Linked DNA regions of Homo sapiens: region 2 is linked to region 1. Evidence: promoter capture Hi-C in human tissues and cell types (Jung and others, 2019). All regions are on one chromosome and are shown on one strand. Each heading gives the region's core, a stretch centred on a gene start or on the middle of the fragment in contact. The rest is flanking DNA. Distances are from core to core; before and after follow the strand shown. Region 1 holds the start of ABCA12 (ATP binding cassette subfamily A member 12). Region 2 overlaps ABCA12 (ATP binding cassette subfamily A member 12).

Region 1 (4,455 bases), core at 1,035-3,534:
CATACTCTATCTCTTAAGAAGAGTTTCCAGGAACTTTTCATTTTAAATCCGCAATATGACATCTCCTCCTCTTTGGCTTTAGGTCCCTAACTCTCCAACTTTATCTTCTACTACTTCAGACCAGCTCTTAGATTTAGTTGGGTCAGAATTCTCACCATTCAGGAATACAGAATTTATCTCAAAATTGTGGTGTTCCATGAGACTTGGTCCCTGTACTCAAGGGGCTCAGAGTATGGACAGAGAGACAGACTGACTATACTAGAAGGTAATAAGGGAGTTGGCTATCTGTGCGAACAAAGCTTTATGGGAAAACAGATGAAGGGGTGATTAATTCAGCCGGGGGTGGGGGTGTGGTGGGTGGAAGTGCTGGAAAAGGCTTCAGAGGGGAAGTTACACTTGAGTCAGTCATTTGAGAATGAGCACAATTTCATTTTGGGCAGAGGGAACAGCATGACCAAAGCCTGAAAGTGAACAGTCCTCATCTAAAGTATTCTAGCAGATGGCAGGAGGGAGGGCTGAAGGTGGAGAGACAACTGATGAAGCTGGCAAGAGCCAGGCTGGGAAGTGCCGTGAGGCTCTATGAAGAAGCCTAAAAGAGCAGCCTTCCTTCTCCTGAATTCCTGGAGCAACTACTCTTTGTGAACTCATTTTGGCCATAATTTTTCATGCGTGTACTTACAAAAAAATCTCTACAAGTGATTTATAGACCTGCCTAGAGAAACAGGGAAAATCCCTGATGTTCATTTGTTTCTCAGCTCTTCCTGTGAAGTGTAATACATGGGACTGGAGAAAACATAGCACAGAGATTAACAGTACAGAAACGAGGTTCGAGTTCCTTCTCTGCTGTTCCCACTGTCCTCACTGCTAACTAGGTGAAATCCAGCAAGTTATGGCACTTCTAAATATCACTTTCTTTCACTGAAAATGGGAATAATGACAGTTTCTATATAATAGGACTCCTAGGATGATTCAATAAGTCCTTAGCAAACATTGCTACCCAATTAATAGAATTAATTGACTACTTACTATGAGGCAGGACCTGTGCTAGATTCCTTTTTTTGGAGGGGGGATGGAATCTCACTCTTTTGCCCAGGCTGGAGTGCAGTGGCGCCATCTCAGCTCACTGCAACCTCTGCCTCCCGGTTTCAAGCGATTCTCCCTCCTCAGCCTCCCAAATAGCTGGGATTACAGGTGCCCACCACCATGCCTGGCTAATTTTTGTGTTTTTAGTAGAGACGGGGTTTCACCATGTTTGCGAGGCTGGTCTTGAACTCCTGACCTCAAGTGATCAGCCCGTCTCGGCCTCCCAAATTGCTGGGATTACAGGCATGAGCCACCGCACCTGGCGAAGGGAGAACTCTTAATGCTTTAACGGATTTTGCAAGTAAAGTCTGGATTAGTCAGGGTAGGTGTGAGGATCAAAGGGGAGCTTCACCCTACTAGCCTTGGCTCCAGTAGTTTATTCAATTACATTCAGCAGCAAGTATTGAACACTAATGATATGTAAAGTACTGTGATATAAAATAGTCCATGTCCTCAAATAATTTATAATCTTGTAGGAAAAATAAGACATACACAAATAAAAATAATGCAAAAACTTTAAGTTCCTTGAGAGAGGGCAACAAAGAATGATTCAAAGGCAAGAGAATCTATCCTATGGGATATATCCAAAAAGGCTTCATTGAAGATGTCAACTTGGGGATAACTTTGAAAGGCAGGATCTTAGAGAGGGAGGAATGTATCATGGAAAGAGGAAATAGAAATGTCTTGGATCAGCCTGTGTCCCCTTTCACTATAAGAGCCTGAAACAATGTGGCTTGTCTGTAATAGACACGTGAATCTCCACTCACGAATTGAGGGACTCCAGTTTGTAATTTATGTCCCCTACAGCCTACCTTTCCTTTTCTGCCCTGTGCTTAACCTAGTACATTGTGATGAAAGGTGGGACCTGGCCAACATAGTTTCTTCCCCCAAAATCGAAACATTCAACTTTAGGTTAAAGGTGGACACTTTCCCTAGTATATCTAATGATGGGCTGAGGCTCAGAGCTTTGCAGCTAAGCTCTGGCCTTATTGACTTAAATCATTTTAATGACACTTTAATATTAAAGAGTCACTGGGCCCAGTGTCTGTGAAATGCTCTCTGTGCCCTGCCTCTGCTAGAGCAGACACTGTGTGCAGGAAAGAAGACAAGAGAATGTAGGACAAGTCCTACTGGCCTTGCAAAGGTCCCACCCCCTAGTCCCTGTGACGCATCCAGTGCAGGTGACATGTTCTCTAAGGTGTGGATAGGCAATTAATTTCATGGAGAGTAGGAGGTGTGGGTTCAGCTGCTGCTTTTTTTTTTTTTTCAGTGAGGCATTATCTGAATGATGCTCATTCTCTCTTGAGTCTGGACTTCGTGCAACAAGCAGCAACTGGATATTATTTTAAAATAAGCATAAGCCACCCAAAGATACTGATCTGGGTCCTTCTTTTGGAAGAAGAGTTGATTGAGAAGTGCCTCTTGGTTAAGGATTAACCACAGGGAAAAATCCAGCAGAAACAGAAGAACTGTGGGTTTCTTACCCCAGCCCTCAAGGAAGCTATGCCGTGAAAGGGGTACTGATACACTGACATACAGCAAGTTGGACGGGGCATCAGTTCTTCATTTGTGGAGTGGAGAAAAGAAGAGGAAATCTCTCATTTGGGGCATTTGAAGGATGGCTTCCCTGTTTCATCAGCTTCAGATCCTGGTCTGGAAAAATTGGCTAGGTGTAAAAAGGCAGCCGGTGAGTTAAAAAAAAGTGTGGGAGTATGGGTCATGGGGCAATACGCCAGGTAATCCTAAAATGTGATCTTAATGAGAAGTGAAAACAGAAGAGTTTAAAGGCATTTTCCAAAGCAGGAAGTAAGATATTTAGAATTCATCCCCCTATCTGTCTTATAGCTAATGGAGCGAGTCTTAACATGCCCCCAAAAGCAGCCTTTTCATTTCAGTAAATTAAAGAGTAAACCAGGACATGCCCTGGGCAAAAAAAAAAGAACATGACTCATTACTGGCTGAACTGGAACGTTGAATTCTGGTTTCAAGCCAAAAGGCTTTCAGAATTTTTCTTAATGTAGTTAAAAATGGGATAGAGGAAAGAAAAGTATTATTTGAAATGTACAATAAATGGGAAGAAATATACTGGAAAACTGAAAGCCATAGAAAGTTTGGTTGAAAGGTAAAATACAGAACAGAAATAGTTTGAAGGCTATTAGTATAGAAAAGCTACTGAGAAATTTTAGTATCTAAAAATCATTTACTGGGAATACCAAACAAGAGTATGTATATGTGCTATGTTTTAAGAATATTATTGAATCACTTAGCTTTACTACTACAATCTATCTTCTCTTGCTCATTGCAACGTCTTTTTTGTACTCTTACATTAATGTTTGCGTTCTAATTACAAAGTTAGCTATTAGATCCTCATCAGATGGCTCCCAGGATGATTGAGAAAGGAATTGGTTTCTGGGAGTTGTTATATATTCAGAAGAATGTTTGAAAATCGGGGAAATCCAAAAAGGTATTCAATATACTTTATTTTAAAGTGGTAATTCCCAGCCTTGAATGAGTAATGTAAATATTATGCAAATAATATGCATCACACAGAAACCAGCACTTTATCTATGCACCTTATCTCGCTCCAGGCTTGCTTGGATTGCCTGACACTTTACTTGAGTGTTTTGATGTGTGTAGTAAGAGGAGGAAGTAGATGTTCATTTACCCTTGTGAATTTTGTGGGTAGGGTTTTAAAATTCTAAGGCATGTGATTGCATGGGTGTGGGGTTTGAATATAAAATTATAAACTCATTCATGTTTTTATTTGTTTTTTAACTGGAAAAAAAAAAGCACAGAAGAAAACCTCCCCATAATTATCATGTGGTTGATTCTGTGTGGCATAAGCAGGGAAAGGATCCTGGGTGTGTGGATGTGGTCATGTGGTCAGAGCATGCGAGTTGGGGCCCCTGCCACTGCTCCTCATGTAACTTAAGTAGCTTAAGACAGTTTCTCTAAGCACTGTTTTTCCCACCATGATGTGGCATGATGAGTTAGACGTGACATGATTAGTTAGATGTGGCATGAAGCCTGCCACATCTAACTCATTGGGGGAAGTACCAAATGTGCTAATGTATTTCAAAGTGCTTTATAATACTGACACACTTAGCAAATAGATTAGTGAGGGATTTGAGGCAATGTGTGTCATATTTTATGCAGATTAATAATGAAAGGAAATTCAGGAGAAGATACTGTGGGTAAAAGGAAGAAATCCACGTACAGTCAAGTTTGTAAGTGATAAAAATTCAATAGCTAAAAACAAAAACACAGAGGAACTAAAATCTGTACGTGTTATTGTCAATAATCTGAATGCTGAGGTCTGTTTCTTTTACAACTCTATTTTGTGTAAAAAAAGTTATAGGAAAAAAAAACACC
Region 2 (4,455 bases), core at 1,098-3,597, 68 kb after region 1:
TGAGATTCTAGGGGTCTATTTAAAAAAAAATTAATGTATATTTAGAGGGGAAAAATAGTTGCCAGGATTCTATTTGCAAATGGCCATAGCAGGGAGATTTTTTAAAAATGCAATCGTGAATCTTTGTTACTAAAAGACAAGTTTCAGAAAAGCAAAATGTCAGTTACTGTAAGGCTTATCTAACAAGACTAATAAACCCTACTCACCCCAGATGAGCCGTAGAACTCAACATTCCTTGTTTCTTTTCTTTCTTTCTTTTTTTTTGGAGGCAGACTCTTGCTCTGTCACCCAGTCTGGAGTGCAATGGCACGATCTTGGCTCACTGCAACCTCCGCCTCCTGGGTTCAAGCAATTCTCCTGCCTCAGCTTCCCAGGTAGCTGGGGTTACAGGTGCCTGCCACCATGCCCAGCTAATTTTTGTATTTTTAGTAGAGACAGGGTTTCACCATGTTGGCCAGGCTGGTCTCGAACTCCTGACCTCGTGATCCGCCCACCTTGGTCTCCCAAAGTGCTGGGATTACAGGCGTGAGCCACCGCGCCTGGCGAAGAACTCAACATTCTTTGTTAAGTGGAAATGTTTTGAAAGTATGAGTGAGATTTTTATTTTTAAACTTCCCCCAGATTCAGTTCACAAGGGAGTTTATTATCTGCCATGTATTTGTTACTGTTATATCTCCCAGCCTTGAATCAAAACATTTTGTTTAAAATTTAAATAGACCAGGCCATGATCTTTGGAACCCATCACCCAGCAGGGTCTCCTTAACATTCAGAAAAGACGGAGCTACATTTTGGTCTGGACATGCAGGAAGGTGGGGTTATGGAGTCTTCTGGGCTGACCATCAATTCAAGTGTACACTAAAGGGTCAAAGAGATAACATCCAAAGAGACAGCAAGGTCCTGAGTCCAGACTGCCTTCTAAAAACTCTGCTTCCCTTAAAAAATAATAATAGCAATAAGCCAACAATATAAAGAAGGCAGAGATCTTCCCCCAGTGCCTCTTGCCTATAGTTTCATAGCCAGAGTCTCAAGGTACAAAAAATGTCCCTATGTCCTATCCATAGGGACACTTTTTGTACTTTTCAAAATCCGTCTGGCTGTGGTACTTGGCAGCAGCTATGAGGGATGCAGAGGATGTCAGAAAGATCCCGACATTGTAGGACACCCACCCAAATGACCCAAGGTTTGTTCTTGTTCCTTGTGGCTGTAGCAATTGAACATATTCAGGTGCCAACGTTTTGAGTACAGGAACTCCTTAATCACTGCTTTCAGGATTAGGCATCTTGCCTCAGCCCTCATTACCACCTACAGTCTACCTTTTTGCCAATGGATTTGAACTTGGAAAAGAATCTGTGCTATGAAGTAAGACTTGCCTGGGGAGAAGGAGGGAGAATGTATCATGGCACCACACCCACTGAGCACACAGTAATTTAAACACTACAGCGGTTGATACAGGTACATATTATGAATTACTAGGAAGAGAAGTGCATCATCATGCAACACTCCAAACCATTCACTGGCTCAAGGCATGAGCCAGGAGACCAGGTCGAGCAGAGAAGCCACAGCCAGCAAGTGGAAAATAAGATGAATGATGCAAGAGAAGCCCGATGAGCAATGGTAACTCATGGTTCCATGGGGCCTTGTGTCTTCAATGCTTATAGTACCTTACACAAGCATTGCCTAATTGATCTTCCCTGTGCCCTGTGAGATGGCAAAATCCATTATCTTCAATTTGGGAGATGTGGAAATAGAGTCCTAGGTTAATTTACCCCCTGGTGATTCAGTGATTCAACAGCAAAACTAGAAGTGTACCTGTTTTTCAAATTCTCAGTCTCTTTCCTCCTCCAAGATTCTGAAGCTTAGCTGAACATGTTGTTTTCATTACTGTAATCTATCATATAGTTCTAGATCCATCTCTGGCATTTTATTGTTTATGTTTGTTTATTATTAATTATTTATTTGGACTTTGACCAAATTGCTTGATTTCTCGGAGGTTATCTACAAAATGGGCATAAACCCTCACCCTGCCTATCTGACAGAATTGTCATGGAGCTTGTATGAAATGATGTATGTTAAATTCCTTCAAAACCATGAAGATTTATTTTTTATTTTATTTTATTTTATTTTATTTTATTTTATTTTATTTTATTTTATTTTATTTTATTTGAGACAGGATCTCACTCTGTTGCCCAGGCTGGAGTGTTGTGGCATGATCATGGCTCACTGCAGCCTTGAACTCCTGAGCTCAAGCGATTCTCCTACCTCAGCCTCTGGAGTAGGTGGGACTGCAGGCACATACCAGCATGCCGAGATAGTTTGTGGGTTTTCTTGAGTGTGTATTTTTTGTAGAAACAGGGTTTCGCCATGTTGCCCAGGCTTTGTCTCGAACTGCTGGGCTTAAGCAATCCATCCGTCTTGGCATCCCAAAGTGCGAGAGTATAGGTGTGAGCCTCTGCTCCTAGCCGAAGGTTTATTTTTTAACCAATGTCTTTTGTTTGTTTTCAAACATACACTTTTTAGTACACAATATTTCTGGCAGTTCAGGAAAACAAATGATTTCTATATGCATTTTACTTAATAAAACTGTGATGACCTTGTAAACCAGATTCACATACTCTCTCTTTTTTCTGTCTTTCCATAATAACCCAGAGTAATATTTTTTAACTGTTAAGATGAACAATTTTTAATCATCATTCTCAGTAAACTATCACAAGGACAAAAAAACAAACACCGCATGTTCTCACTCATAGATGGGAATTGAAAAATGAGAACACATAGACACAGGAAGGGGAACATCACACTCTGGGGACTGTTGTGGGGTGGGGGGAGGGGGGAGGGATAGCATTAGGAGATATACCTAATGCTAAATGACTGACGAGTTAATGGGTGCAGCACACCAGCATGGCACATGTATACATATGTAACTAACTGTGCACATGTACCCTAAAACTTAAAGTATAATAATAATAAAAACATTTAAAAAAAAGATGAACGATTTTTTAAAAAATAGAAGAATGAACCCTACTTAACACCTTTCTTGGTGCCAAGCACACAATACCTGCCCAGTAAATATTATTGAATAGATGGCGAATGGATTCACTTTGTGGATAATAAATCCAGAGGTTGACATTTATGGATGTCAATGTGTATTAGTTAGATTTTCAGAAAAATCAATACTGAAAGGCTCTACAACAATAAATATTGATTTTATTAATCATTTAAATCTGTCTATTTTACAAGGCATGTGAATATAACACAATATTATCCCTTGAACTTACTATAACATTGGAATACAATTTGAATCTTTGTCCTACAAACGATAAACATAACGATGTATATTAGGTTAGAGTCTTGAGTCATGCAGTCTTCCTCGGACTCCCCCAGGGGTTCCTACAGCTACCCATTTATTCACATATTTAAAATTGTTTACAATGTGTGAAGCATTGTGCTAAGAACTATGTAAGGTTTTTTCTTTCTTTTAAATAGCTTATTTTTTTATCCAGTCTCTTAAAAAGACGCAATTTTACTAGGTTAGAGTCTCTATTAGCAAGTTCGAAGTCATATTGGTTTTCAGCCCTAGGCTGAAGTCACTCTAGGCCACATAGGTGTAGAAGCCCTCATTCCGAGGGACTGGAATCAGGAAGAACTGGTGTATTTGATTTTATCTGAAGGTGGGTGGTGGACAGGACACCTCCCCTCAGTAAGTAGACTGATCCCTCAAATGAAAGGTGCATGCGAAGGAGAACAGGAACAGATCTACAGGCTCCTGATATAATGTTACGAACTACTTTGAAAGGCCAAGTTTATATCATTTACAATTTAACTTGTCTTTTCAAGTGTAACCGAGAACAAAATGTGCTTGAAAACTACAAGAAGATTTAAAAAAAAACGTTAATAAATTATTACAAATATGCTTCTAAGATTCATTTCCTTTCCTATGCTTTGAAAATTCACATTTAGGTATTTGATTGTTTACAGCTGATGTTTTTGATATGCTTCTCTCATTCTGTACTCTTGATATGGTGTTAAGTCCCTGTTGTGGTGCTTGACAAGGAGACATTATTTGCACGATCAGAAGGCCTGACACTTATTCTGCCACTGTGACCCTGTATCCAAAGAAATTAAGAAAAAAAAAAATGCTCTCAAATGAGTAACTCCATATTTTTTTTTTTAAAAGTCAGAATTTTCCTTCCAAAATGTATCATTCTATTCTTCACTGGGGTAAAGACTAAATGCCTTTCACCTGGAAATATAAAAATACCAACTAGGTTGTCTTCTGAACTGTTTTGAGAAAAACAGAATGAAACAGTGGCAAGTGTCCGATTCTACCATTGCTATAATGTGTACAAATGTCACCGAGGCAGCCTACAGAATATTTCTGGAGCCTAATGATTTCAAATGGAAGTAGCTTCATTCCTGAAAAGACCATGGCATAACTTTCTGCAATAATAAAATAAA

Evidence for each region. The method cuts DNA at HindIII sites, captures the fragments that hold promoters and counts their contacts. A contact is called where the count stands out against the background at its distance.
Region 2: a fragment that was not itself captured here is called in contact with the fragment with the promoter of ABCA12 in region 1 in 3 of the 25 tissues and cell types used here (bladder, small bowel and spleen).

The regions. Positions count from the first base shown.
Region 1 is chr2:215,136,455-215,140,909 of GRCh38, reverse strand. It overlaps ABCA12 (ATP binding cassette subfamily A member 12), which reads left to right and starts at 2,284. Exons shown (of 53, transcript NM_173076.3): 1 at 2,284-2,770. The coding sequence starts at 2,702. The HindIII fragment of the contact is 12,690 bases long and covers 1-4,455 here.
Region 2 is chr2:215,068,905-215,073,359 of GRCh38, reverse strand. All of the region lies in intron 2 of ABCA12 (ATP binding cassette subfamily A member 12), which reads left to right. Among named protein-coding and RNA genes, the nearest start is that of ABCA12, 67 kb to the left of the region's middle. The HindIII fragment of the contact is 5,384 bases long and covers 1-4,455 here.